Regions from separate parts of the Homo sapiens genome. Here all the other regions are linked to region 1. Evidence: promoter capture Hi-C in 16 types of primary human blood cells and fetal thymus (Javierre and others, 2016). All regions are on one chromosome and are shown on one strand. The core of a region is centred on a gene start or on the middle of the fragment in contact, and the rest is flanking DNA. Distances in the headings are between cores, read along the strand shown. Region 1 holds the start of MEF2C-AS2 (MEF2C antisense RNA 2). Region 2 holds the start of CCNH (cyclin H). Region 3 overlaps LOC105379066 (a long non-coding RNA gene).

What was found. Contacts are between HindIII fragments. The CHiCAGO score rates a contact against its expected background, and 5 or more counts as called.
Region 2: the fragment with the promoter of CCNH here is called in contact with the fragment with the promoter of MEF2C-AS2 in region 1 in 13 of 17 cell types (M2 macrophages, endothelial precursors, M0 macrophages and 10 more); the score reaches 24.3 in M2 macrophages.
Region 3: a fragment that was not itself captured here is called in contact with the fragment with the promoter of MEF2C-AS2 in region 1 in 4 of 17 cell types (M2 macrophages, endothelial precursors, M0 macrophages and 1 more); the score reaches 9.4 in M2 macrophages.

The regions. Positions count from the first base shown.
Region 1 is chr5:88,674,132-88,678,710 of GRCh38, reverse strand. It overlaps MEF2C-AS2 (MEF2C antisense RNA 2), which reads right to left and starts at 2,493. Exons shown (of 4, transcript NR_146284.1): 1 at 2,448-2,493. The region is part of intron 1 of MIR9-2HG (MIR9-2 host gene); the gene reads left to right. RefSeq lists enhancers at 2,419-2,984, 3,422-3,521. The HindIII fragment of the contact is 5,913 bases long and covers 1-2,605 here.
Region 2 is chr5:87,410,508-87,415,086 of GRCh38, reverse strand. It overlaps CCNH (cyclin H), which reads left to right and starts at 2,157. Exons shown (of 9, transcript NM_001239.4): 1 at 2,157-2,409; 2 at 3,741-3,863. The coding sequence starts at 2,293. It overlaps LOC105379066 (a long non-coding RNA gene), which reads right to left and starts at 2,105. Exons shown (of 3, transcript XR_948543.1): 1 at 2,026-2,105. RefSeq lists enhancers at 2,201-2,370, 2,401-2,530. The HindIII fragment of the contact is 6,680 bases long and covers 1-3,396 here.
Region 3 is chr5:87,430,216-87,434,794 of GRCh38, reverse strand. All of the region lies in intron 1 of LOC105379066 (a long non-coding RNA gene), which reads right to left. Among named protein-coding and RNA genes, the nearest start is that of CCNH, 20 kb to the right of the region's middle. The HindIII fragment of the contact is 6,327 bases long and covers 1-4,579 here.

The DNA of each region.
Region 1 (4,579 bases), core at 1,244-3,743:
TTGTCTGTCGCTGCCAGGTTACCGGCCAGAGTGGTGGCTCTTGGTGCAGGGCATGCTGCTCTCGGAGGAGTTGGGGTCTGCGCGGGGTTGCGGGGCTTATTCAAATACCTCCCGCTGCTGCTGTGATTCGCAGGGACTCGGCCTCCATATGGTAATGCGGGGCGGGGGGTTGGGGGAGGCGCAGAAGGGAGGGGAGGGGAGGATGGGGGTGAGGGCGGGGTGGGAGGGGGCTCCGACACTGCGCGCTCGGCTGCCGGGCTGGGACAGAGCACCCGGACCCGCGGCGGCAGCGGCAGCGACGCTACCCACCCTCTTCCCCAACACCCACCTAGCCAGCGAGTCACCGAGCCACCGGCCCTCGGGGTAAGCCACAGCGCGCACACGGCAGCGACGGTGACGGTTCACACGCTTTGGGTTACTACCATGCGCCAATAAGGGAGATTAGAAACAGAAAAGGAGATTACAGAGAGATCAGAGATAAGAGGTGTACCTCTCTGTGTTCCTTGTCACATAGCGCGCGCGCGCACATACACACGCATCTGTACACACATGCATGCTCAGCCGTACACGCACGCGTTCCTTGCTACTGCCATCTAAATATATGCACCGACACTCTATGCCCTGCAACGTGGCCGGTGTGTTTGTCCTGATCCTACATAAAGGTAGGCAGGTATGTGGGAGAGTCCAGGCAGGAACAAACAGCCACGCGCAATTTAACTGCAGCCAAACTCAAAGAGACCTTGAGCCTGCCGAATTGTTTCACTCAGCCAGGTGCCCCCCAGAAACCGGCTATTCTGCAATCAGTTGTGGAATCCTGCAATTATTCATAAAATGTGCTGAAAATGTATTTTAGGAAACGTAATCTTGCTATATATGGCAAGGTAAAGGCGAACCTGAAGGATGAATGTGTTTCTGCTTTTTAATGTCATACGTGTAGCCATCTGACCACTTTTTATTGGGTGACATATCATATGAGCACTTTGGTGTAGGCTTGGAAAAACTACAGCCAGAGGTAAGGCTGGAAATTCCATAAGAGTTAAGGGTGCTGAAAATGGATGCTGGATAGTCCAGCATGAAAGATGGCATACCGCTTTAGGTTTGAAATAGGGGGAAATACATGTGAATATTTATACATGAAGGCCATTGGGGAGGGCTGAGTCTTGGCCTGAGTATCTGTGCAGGTAAGTCATTCATAAGAAAACTAATTACCTGTGCATGTACTTGGACTTGTTTAATTGAATAAGCTGCATGTGTGCATACTTGCTGTTCTTTCAGGGTTTGCAATTATAGATTGAGTCTTTTTTAAATGATAGCTTGGGGGAATTAAAAGGTGGAAAAAAGCCATCGTGCTGCATAGCTATATTGCCAAGAAAGAGAATCCGATCCTATAAACAAGATTACCATTGCTTGAAATCTAACTCAAGGCCTGTATATTTTAAGCCACATCAACTGGTTTAATATAGCCAATTGTTTTATTTGTGTATTTGCTTTCATTTCAAAGTCAGGAATCAAGGATGCTTTTCAGTCAAGATAATGTGCCTTGTTTCCAGCCATATTAAGATAAAAATGAAACTCAGTAAATTTTGAATGCAGCCAATAAGGTACAACATACAACATGGTTGAAAATGTCTTCCTTGCAGAAGGCTGTCCATTGCTGTGTCTACCCATTTTAAAATATATATATTTTTTTCAATAAGAAATGCTAGAAAGCAATAGGGCGGGGAATGCCGCACCTCTCAGGCAATCAGCACAAAAATTATTTAGAAATCTTTGGAATCACTTCACTTATACATACATTATCTCGAAAGCACTGGCCCCGAACTGTGTTTCTGCTAATATGAAGTTAATTAGACAATCAAACTTTGAGCCTTGAGCGATGGGCACTACAGCCCATCAAGGTATGTCAAGAAAGAAAAAAAAATGTGTATTTTCCTTTATGACCAAACCAGGAGGTTATACAGCTGGCATTGCATACATGACAGATGTGCATATTTGTAACCTTAAATAAACAGAAGCAGGGAGGTAACTGTGTATATTATCTAGCAAGAGACAGCAGCAGACACTCGCCAAAAAAGACAGAAAGGGACAAGAGAGACACATAGACATAATAAAATAACAACAATAAAAATCCTCCAAAAAAAAAAAGAGGGAAAGGGAACCAATAAAATGACAAAATCTGAAATTCTCGCAAATTAAAAAATGCAAATATACCTTTACATATGCATCAGTATTAAAAATAATACACGCTGGAACCAACAGGAGCGAGAGCAAGAAGAGGAGGAGGAGGTGGAGGAGAAGGAGGAGGAGGAGGAGAGGTGGAAGAGGAGGAGGAGGAGGAGGAGGAGGAGGAGGAGGAGGAGGAGGAGGAGGAGGAGGAGGAGGAGGAGGAAAGAATGGAGGCGCCGCGGAGCCCTGATTATGCATGGGCTGGAGCTGCCTCCTCTAACCTGTTCTTCTCCGAGCCGGGCAGCCGGCGGTCCTCAGCCGCCCACAGAACAGGAGCCGAAACAACCGTTCTCGAAGGCTACAGCGTTTATTTTTCTCTTTTGGGGGGTTTTGGCGGTTGTTTCAGGGGCTCGCCAACTGGCCCCTTTAATTAAAAGCTTCAATAAAAGGCGATCGCGCCAGGAATGCACCCGCTCCTCTTCGCGCAGGATTTGCATATTTTTTTAATGCCCTAATTTCCTTGATGTATGTAAATGTAGCCGGACGTAGAGGGAGACAGGGAGCTGACGTCAATGGACGTGACCTCGCAGCTAAACCTTGAACGTGAAGCCGGGATGGGGGAAAACACGGAGCGGCAGCCGGCGGAGCCCGAGAGCGCGGGCGGCGGCGGCAGTAGCCGAGCCCAGGCCGGGGTGCCAAGGGACCAGTGCCGGCCCCGGGGGAGGACAAGCCGCCGCCTTCTTTCTGCACCGCGCGGCTCTCAGACTCGCCAGCCTTCCGGCCGCACACGCAGACTCTTGCCCTGAGCTTCCAGCCCCACCACACACACGTTCTTTTGCTTCCCTCAGAAAAGCAACACTCCCCAAAACAACAAACCAAAATCAACAGATAAAACAGATGTTTTAGACCAATGCTCGGGTAGCTTATCAGAAAGAAGACTCTGACCACGGAACATATATATTTTTTGGCTTCTCTCCACAAGAAGAGGAGCGAGAGACCACAGACAACAGCAAATCACTCCTAAAACACGATAACTACAAGTGCTCCCTGTAGGGAGAGGTAAATCGCCCAGCCGACTGGTGAAGTCTTCTGGTTTCGGTACCTATTTACCTGTGCACTCATTATGCGCCTCGGCTTCATTAACGGCAGGATCATGAGCGCGCGTTTTAATGTGATGGGAGTGCTGTGTTGTGTGTGTGTGTGTATGTATGTATGTGTGTTGGGAGGTGCTTGCGCTAGTGAGCACCGAGGCAGGCGCTCTGAGCAGAGAGAGATCAGTCTTTCCATGGCCACGTCTGGGACTCATCTGCGGAGCCATCTAGGCCAGGGCTCCTAGATTGGGGTTCGACTTCACCCCATGTAAAAAGAGAGGCCAGCAAAGGCTTCCCCTGAACAGCCAGGTCCTTCCCATCGGATTGTTTGAGGAAGGAGGCTTGAAGTGTGAGCCATTCTGTAGCCGCCGCCTTGCCGGATTTGGCCTGGTGTTTTGCACTTGAAACTCAGCGGCCTCAGCGCGGAGGTAGTGCCTCTCCGAGACGCGGCCGAGGCCTTGTCATTCCCCTCCTTCCGCCCGCGGCAGCCCTGCGCGCCGGCGTGTGCGTGCCCGCGCACCGGACCGCTGGCACCTCCCTGTGCACATCCGCCCCCTCCTCTGCTCGCCCCCTCCTCTGGGGCAGCTAAGAAATGGTCCTCGGCCTCTTCTGGGCCGGAGGGCAGATCTACGAGCAGGCAAGAAAGGGGCGCCGGTGGCTGTGGTGGCGACTTCTCCGCTCTGCCCTCGGCCGCCAAGTGTGCCGTTTCATCGTTCCACCTCGCAGCCCCAGCTTTGTTTTCCTGACATGTTCGTGGCCATTGGGCCCCACGCCTGCGAGGGGAGTGTGTGCGTGTGCGCGGGGGTCGGGCGCGCGCGGCGGGTGGGGGCTCTCCCGCCAAGGACACGCATGGCTGTCTGTCCTCCGGCTGCACTTGGCGGGAAAGCTAGGGGCCGCCGGCGGGGCTGAGCGCCAGCGGCTGTCATTACCGCCTCCCTGCTCCCCGCGGGCTGCATTTACATACGGGCCACTCGTCTGAATTTTTACGGCACTCTTCCCCCTCCCGTACCCGGTCGCACGCGCGCAGGCTCGGAACTACCACCCCGGCACGCAGACACCCGCGCCCAGAATGCGGCCAGCCCCAGGCGCGCAAACAGGCCCACAGGGGCCGACGGCACTCGGCGGGACGGATTCCTGCACCGCCTCCCCGCACCCCCGTGCCCACACCCCTGACAGCCTCTCCGCTTGTGTTGCAGGAAGCCCACCTTCCCCTCGAAGCCCCCACCCTTCTCTGTCTGCATACTTCCACCCCCACCCTCCCACATCTCTCCGTCTCTCTTTCCGTGGAAGGCAGACGCGCGCGCGCGCGCGCACACACACAC
Region 2 (4,579 bases), core at 908-3,407, 1.3 Mb after region 1:
AGGAGGCTGAGGCTGGAGAATGGCTTTAACCCAGGAGGCGGAGGTTGCAGTGAGCGAAGATTGTGCCACTGCACTCCAGTCTGGGTGACAGAGCAAGACTTTGTCTCAAAAAAGAAGAAGAAGAAGAAGAAAAAAACCTAATGGAGGTGTGGGTGGAGGGTAGAAGGGAACTGGCCATGTATTGATAATTTTTGAAATATGTTTCTCTGTATTCTTTATATTTGAAATTCTCCATAAATAAATAAGTAAAAATAATAGAAGTGAAGAGAAACACTTGCTACTTTTTAGTTGAAACTAGAAATGGAAATAGGTAAAGGCACAAGTTCTGCATTCCAGTGTGCCTCCTGTGGTAGCAATAGCAAAGAAACACTGTCGCACAACAGGCTGAGTAGGAGACTGTCACAGCATCCAGTCTGCTTACCTTAGTAAGAAAAACCATACATGAGCCTTAATGTTAGGGCATCAGCAACAATTGTATTCCTCAGACAGTTAATTTAGACAGAGCCCAATTCCTACTACATCTGAAAAATAAGATCAATGTCAATTTTCATGGACTAAAATTTGTTCAAGGTTTAAAAAAAATTACACCAGCAATGCCAGGTTTTTCATATATTTTTCCTAAATGACATTCAGAAATTTTACTCATATCTCTGTGGAAATCACAGTCTGCCAACTCTTTTAAATGCCTATTTTTATTATCCTTTACATAAAACTAAGGAGTTGTCAAATATCTTTCAGAAAAACAAAATGAAAAGAATTTATATGATATATATAACAGTCATGAGGCTAAGACTTTATATAGACATTTAATTATCTAGATCACTTATTTTCCTATCTTTTGTACCATTATGTTTTTCTCTTTTAAATTATTCTTTCCCCAACATGCAACATTTTAGGTTGTTCACAATTCATTGTAATCAATTTGCCATGCCCTTTGATCTTCTCTTTTTCTCTCTTTTCTTAGCCAATTTATGAGACCAGGTTAGCCACATATGTTGAGTGTGTGGCTCTCCAAAATTATATACCACAAATGGCATAAGTTTGAGGAATTCAGATAACTGTGGCAAACTCTAACCTCAGCTGTACCCAACAAAAATGAAAAAGAAAAGGCTTTCCCTTTCTTAAGCCCCTAAAAACATTTTAATAGAAAGCAGAGTTAAAGTCATCCTGCCACTTCTTCTTTTTACCTGTGTGGGCTTTTCAAGACCTAAATTCTCTAGGTCTCATCATCTTTCTCTTTCTTTTTATTTATTTATTTATTTTTTAGAAAAGCTATTTGCCATAGGGAAATCCATTTTTCGGATTGGATATATAATAAATACATGAGAGAATAAGGTATGCCTAAATGGGACAAACCAGAATCCATGTAAATTTTGAACCTCACCTGCAATTTTGAAAGTCCTATTAATTTAAAAAATAGTAAATACCTTAATTTTCATGATAGCTTACTGTAAGGCTCCCTAGAGGCAATGAAAATGGGAATCTCAATAAAACGAATACTACCATACATCCTGGCTTCAGAGATGAAAACAGAGGGAGAGGATTGGCTAGTTATCAACAGAAGGGTAAGGAAAAAAAGCACAGAGAAAGAACAGACAAGGCAACAAAAGTGGCAGAACTGTAAGGGCCAATACGCATCCACTGCTTCAAGTTTTTCAGCCATGTTCCATTCTCCGAGATTTCTGGTAGTGCTTCAAGAATACTGGTCTCCAAACTCTTCCTGAAAAGGGCTAGGAATGCTTCTGCCTGAAGATCTTACCTATTCTTTCTGGGCCCCGTGATCTCCCTACATGATTGATCAACCTACTATTTCAACTCTTTCAAGCCTTTTCACAAATGTCAACTTCAGTGAGGCCTCTATTTAAAAATGAGCACCCTACGAAATCCTTTCCTCATTTCTGATTATCCCCTGTGAATTTACATCTGCCTACTCCGTACCCTCAGTTTATGCCCCTTGAACACTCTTGCCGGGCGCTTCTCCTTTAAATCTTGCCTGGAAGGGGCGGAGCTATGTCCCAGACTCACCGAGAGGAGCGTTCTCTAGGCTCCGCCCACTTACGTCTCAGTGGGCGCCCTAACGAACCCGGGATACGGTCTGTTCCTAGTCCGCTCCGGAAATGCAACTGCGTACGGGCTGGCCGCGTAATCGTGACGACAGCGCGCCAGCGCCGGCTAGCCGGACGCCCTAGGCTTCCGCGAGATCTTCGGTGGGGGTACGGGTGTTTTACGCCAGGACGCTGATGCGTTTGGGTTCTCGTCTGCAGACCCTCTGGACCTGGTCACGATTCCATAATGTACCACAACAGTAGTCAGAAGCGGCACTGGACCTTCTCCAGCGAGGAGCAGCTGGCAAGACTGCGGGCTGACGCCAACCGCAAATTCAGATGCAAAGCCGTGGCCAACGGGAAGGTGAGGTTTTCCCAACGGTTGCCCAGTTGCCCGGTCACTAAATTCTGAGCAGCTGCGGGAGCTCTTCTGGCTCCCAGGACAATCTCGCTCCGTCGTTTCTCTGCCTCTGCGGCGCGGAGTGCGTTTTTCTATCAAAATAAGCGAGCACCTTGCCAGGTTCCGTGGGTACAAAGACGAACAACGCCATCCCCGTCGTCGAATGGCAGACAAGTAACCAGTCTTTGTAACGTAGTGAAGAAGAGAGTAAGTAGTGTGCTAAGGTAGTGCGTGGCAAGAGCCGTTCACTTGTCAAGAGATGATGTTGGGGAAGGTTTTTCCCAGTAGCCAATGCGGAGAAAATGGGAAAGGAAGTTCCAGGCAGTCAGAACCACCGTTCAGAGTGGGAGGGAGGTCAGAAGTTACAGAGATGGTGCGTGGACGTGTTTGTGGTCGTATGTGGCCGAAGTTGAGTACCTGTGCAGGAATGGCTGGGGAGGGTAGGAAGGGAACTTGTAAGTGGAAGTGAGGCGTTTAACATTTCCACTGAAAGGATGAGGAACCTTTGAAATATTTAAAATGGGAAGCTAACCTTATCAGATTTCCGTTCTGGAAACAGCGCTCTAGCAACCTCGTGGTGAATGGGTTGGATGAGGGAGGGAGACCAGAGACCAAGTACAAACCAAGTGACTGAAGATGGTTTGGACTATGGCCCGCTAGCCAAGTTCCTTCTGTTACAGCTCTCGGACTGGTTTAATCTTTCCTGCAAGCTCCACTCCAGCAAGTGTTCAGTGCCTCCAAATTACCGATACTGAGTTACTTTACTTTCTACCTTTAATTCACATCTATTTCATATCACTGATTTTAGCACCTGAATTAGTTTCCTAAGGGCTGCCTTAAAAAAATCACCACAAACTGGGTAGCTTAAAATAACAGAAATTTATTGAAACATTTGCTGTTTTTTTACAACTTGTGACGTAATGACTGACCGAGAAACGGATGTTGGAAGCTTTCCAATCATATTTTAAAAAGTCTGTCTACTTTTTAATTTATAAATAATGATATCACAACTGTGAGCATGTGCACACAGCCTGTCATGATTGTTTATACTTTAATGAAGCAAAGGTCTAGCTGACATTCCGAAAAGTCGTGAAATGATGGTACAGTTTTAGTTTATTAAATATTTTCCTACAGCTATTTTGTGTAATGATTAGCGAATCTATAAAGAAAATGAGGCGTGATATATACCCTTCGTTGGATATATAAACTAAATTTAATCTAGATAGAGAAAAATGTTTTACAATTGTTTAATTCATTGAATTCATTGAACTTGTGTTGTAATTGTTGATCTAAAGGTTCTTCCGAATGATCCAGTCTTTCTTGAGCCTCATGAAGAAATGACACTCTGCAAATACTATGAGAAAAGGTTATTGGAATTCTGTTCGGTGTTTAAGCCAGCAATGCCAAGATCTGTTGTGGTAAGTTACAGTGGTGATGAAATATAATGTCCTTTAGTTGGCTTGTGAAATTTGACCTCTTCTAAATTCCCTGTCCACTCAAGTCTTAAAAATTCACCTTAGTTACAATTAATTAGTTTTTGGCACATTATATATTTTTCAATACAGGCCTTAAATCATGAGTTGCTGTATCATATCTTCAAAAGTATTTCAAGTCTCACTTTGTGGTCAGAAAAAAATTTGAGGTCAGGTAATGTCATAAAGAAAGAAAAAAAATAAATTACTTTCCTCTAAGTTCTCAACTAATGAGCCATAGGACTGGGACTAGAACATAGACTACTGCTTTTCCAACTCTGTGACACCCAATAAATGTTTGAAATAATGCATTCATTCATCATTGGTAATCATATGCCCCAGCTGAAACTGATACCATAAGATTTTTTTAAGCCTTGATTAGTAGAAGCTGGAGTTTTATCTTTGGTGAAAAAGATTGCCTTATTGTTTCAGATGTATGGTTCTGAGGACCTATTTGTTTTTTGCTGGGGTGGGCAACCGTGAGGAGAAACAGGTAGCTGAGATTAAAAAGCAGAAAGATAAAAAAGGTAGAGTGGGAGGGTGTTCAAAATGTTGTTACGTTATTCTCTCACTGGTTTGTTGTGAAGACCAAATATAAAAGTATATCTTAAGTAAAAGTCTGTTAAGTTTTAAAGTTATACAGCGTGACTAGCTTACGACCC
Region 3 (4,579 bases), core at 890-3,389, 1.2 Mb after region 1:
CAATTCTTTCTCCATTGCTTTTTGTTTTCTTCAATCTTTTATAAATTCAGATATAATTTAATAACTGTATGTGGTATTTGTGACGAAGAAGGAAGGAACAGGGCCATAAAGACAGATTGGACCTGTAACACTTTTATCACACACACTTCTGCAGAGGACTTTGGCAAGCAGCACCATTTCTCTGAGAGGCCTTGAAGTTCATGAACATGATTTATTTTTTTAAAAAAAGTTTTTTATAAAAGGGTTTTACATCTACTTTTTTGTACCATACTCTATTGCCCTGCCACATCTCTTTTTCCTATGTATTACATTAGATATTGTGAAAAAGTATTGTTGAAACAGAACTTATATCATCAAAAAAGAAAGAAAACAAAGAACTAGAAAGGACTTGTGTAAAATGTTGGATTTCTGTTCCCAGAACTCATTGAACTTACTTCTCCCTCAACCATCTATAGATGAACATGGGCTATCATAAAATCATAGTTAGAACCTTAGAGATTTTGATGATAAGAGTCTACTGTCAGAGAAACCAGTTTCAAGTCATTTCAAGAATACTAAATGATTTTCATTTGGGAAATTCTAGTTTAAAAAAAAACAAACATGTTGATGTAGGTCCAAATGAACTCAATGTAGGTACAAGACTTGACCACATCACACAAGCAGTAAACAGCAAAGTAAGAGTCTGCCTAGTTTCGTCTAACTCCAGAACTCTTGCTGTTCCCCACTACACTGCACTATCCCCTAGCTTTATAATGTCAGCCTGCACACCTAAGCAATCATTATGAACCTATCCCTGGAATCTTGTAGAATGACAGGAAGTCCTGTTGGAACCCTAGGAGCAGGTTATGACAGCATCACTTCTTTTGAAAATGGGGAAAACTGTTCTGCTTATCAGTTACCAACCACATAAGGATACTAATCTTTTTGTTCTTTATTCGGAATTAAGAAAGGGACATGGGGGCATCAAAGCTAACAAGCAGCAAGATTCTTCTGCCTGCATCCCTGAGAAGCTGTGAAATTTAGGTAGTTAAAAGGTGACTGGCAGGAGGATCCAATCCGTTGTGTTCTCTGCATTGACACATATATCATAATGTTGGGTAACAGTACAACGCTGAATGCAGAATATAGATTTCTTGTCATATATCATGTGTAAGAGATGTATTTAATATTCACTATTGAATATTAAAACTATATTCCCTTGAAGCAACATAGGCATCAAGAAAGAAAGAAAAATGACATGTTATCTTTTTTGACATGATAAACATCAAAAAGACTCAGAATAAACATTATCTTAATCATGATAGGTATGCCTGGGGAAAGAACATGGTAGTTGCTGGAAGCACAAGAGCATCAGATGAGTCCAGCAAGCCCAGTTCTGTTCATGACTGTGACATCAAATATATAACCTTTGACGACCTTAAGTCCCTCACCTTAGTTTCCTCATCTATTAAAGCCAGCTATTTACATGGCCTGTATCTACCTATTAGCTTATTGTGAGGAGTAAATAAAATAATGGGGATGATCACAACAAACTTCTATAAAAACAAAAGTTTGTCTAATACTTTGATAGGATAATACATCTATTATATGCAAATTTTACTTAACTACAGAATTATTTTAATTAGCAACTACAGATTTGTTGAGTCATCCATATAAAATTAGAAAATAGAACTATTAAGTATACATATTTAAACAGCAGTGTGGGAAACATTGAAGCACTATTTATTGAGTGTAGTTTCTGGTGTGATTCAATTCTCATCCCAAAGACATAGAATGTCTTTTATTTTCCCAGGTTAAATATAGTATCTTCGGGAATTATTGACATTTAAAAAAAACATTTTCAATTAATATTAAATTCTGAGTGGTGCAATATTTTGAAAGAGGAAAGAGAGCAAAGAATAAACAAATGAAATTGATTTTCAAGTCTAAAAGTTTAAAAACATAAAAAGTAGGAATTAAAATATTAAAATGGTGGTGTCAGATGTTGGATAGGCACAATGTCTTAGTCCATTTAAACTGCTATAACAAAATACCATATACAGGGTATGTTATGAACAACAGAAACTTATTACTCACCGTTCTGTAAGGTGAACAGTTCAAGATCAAGGCATCAGCAGATTCAGTGTCTGATGAGGGCCCCTTCCCTCATAGATGACATCTTCTAGCTGTGTCTTCATGTGGTGGAAGAGGGAAGGAACAAGCCTCATAGTGTCTCTTTTATAAGGACAGTAACCTTTTATCTGGATGCTGAGGAGCCCTCATGACCTAATTGCCTCCCAAAGGGCCCCACCTCCTGATACCATCACGTTGGAGATTAGGTTTCCATCTTTGAATTTTCAGAGGACAAAAGCATTCAGACTATAGTACATAGGCCTGCATATTTCCAGTTCTAGAAGGATCTCACACTTTGGAGTGTTTTTCTCTACATTTTCTGTAGCTTCCTCTATGCCTGGTAGTGGCTAGACCAGCAGTGCCATCCAATCAGGGTTCTCCAAGCTCAGATCATAAAACACAAGGTCTTCATTCTCCATTTCTCCACTAAGGTATTTCTCCAACCAACTTTCCAGGACCTGGGTTCTACCAAATGCCCATGGAACCCTAGGGCTCATGCGGATGGGATTGTCCTGAGACCCCTGCCTGACCTCTAATCCAAGAGAGCAGACTGAAGAGTGGTAACTCCCAATGTCAGCACAGAATTTCTTTTTGTGGGACCACACAAGACTGAGTTTTCAGAATGGAACCAACAAGCAGCAGATGTTGGCCGACTCTCTTATCGATGTAAGACAAGTTCAGGACTCAGAGCTACAAAGAATCTACTGCTAAAACTTGAGCTTGATCTGAGTGTGTGGTCTAGAACATGGGCTCACACTCACCTCTGTTGTGACCACAGTACCACCTTTGATCCAGCACTGAAGAGTATTCTTTACCCTATGTACCCTTGGCCATCCCTGTGGCAGATACCTACCCCTTCTTTAGGTTCCATGCCCCATGTCTGGCAGTTCTCTGGGATTTGGTCATATTATCTACTCTAAGGCCTTTGGATCTATATCTACTCTGGCTATTGATCACTGTGGTAATGCCATGCTTTTGTAAGATGGACTTCCTTACACAAATTGGACCATTCTTTCCCTATCCCATTCCCCTTCCCCTCAAACTCCTCATCTGTTCTCTCCTCTGGTGGCAGTGTATAGAAGGAAGAGAGAGTCAACTTTTAAGAAGATCATGTTTTATGTGTGCAGTGATTATAGCCTAAGGAGTTCAAGAGAAAATATAGTTGGAAGTCATGTTGTTCTATGCTTATGCATTAAAATTCAAAACGAGAAATTTAACATGAATGGAGAATGAATTGTTGTTCACATGTTTCTGCATAGTCTGGGTAAGTTTACATTTCTGTTCATCATCAATAAAACATAGTAACAACATTTAAGAGAGTCTTTGGGGGCCAGTAATCATGGAAAGCACTATGGATGATGCAAAGTCATGAGCAATCATGTAACCAGAATTAAATAAATGGTATTAGGGAACTGCAGAGGCAAGATCTATATTTTTCAATATAAGCAGGTTCCAGCAAGCCATGACCTTATGAGTAATAACAATGTTAATGCCTTTTTCTTTGAGTAAGAGATATAAAATTAGCCAGGAATGGTACATTTTACAATAAAGAAGAGAGGGCTCCTGTACCTGAACAGGAAAAGATGATACCTGGATACTATTAGAAAATGTCATCTGCCATGGGCCTGATCAGGCTTGCATGTTCTTGCTCTGTGTGCCAGATTACTAGCCTTATCCATCCCCTGTTACTGATCAGGGACACATAGGCACTAAGTAGGTCAAAGTGACCACAATAAGACTCCAGGTTTGTAGCAGGAGGGGTCTGAATGATTTGCTACCTGCTACAACATTTTGTAGCTTGCTCAGAGAGTCCTGTACCCTTGGGACCCCTACTTTAATGCAACTCACTGCAAGTACAGGTATCATCTAAGCCCATTTCATCAAGCTCTGATACTTGGCAAGGAGAACCAATGCAAATATGCTGATGCTCATGCTTTTTGCTGTACTGTGAGCAATTAAATCCTTTGCCTCTGACCCAGGAGTCTCCTGTTTTTTTGCCAGTATCCTCGAAATAGTAACAAACTAACTTGTTAGATTGCATTAGGGTAAACTCTCAGAACCTTCACAGTTTTTGGCAGATACTACAAAGAATCCCTTCTCAACTCATTATTCTAAATCACCATCAACCTATCACTATAACTCACATGGGCCTGTGAATTTCATAACACATTGTAAAATCAAATTAACCACATAGACAGGAGCCTGACAAAAAAGTTTTGCCCTGTACCCTGCACACCCTATGGATGGCCCTAGATAGGTTCCCATTATTTGAATGGCTACTTATGTCATAAAGTAGAAAATGTACCCAAGTTTGCTTTTTGTTTTGTGAAACTGAGAGTCCGGAAATAATTTAATAATCAAAGCATGTTTGTACAAGTAATTAAGAAAGATAATAATTTTAAAATAACTTTTTATTAAATTAATATATGCCAGACAGTGATCAAATATTTGAGGAATCTAATCTCTC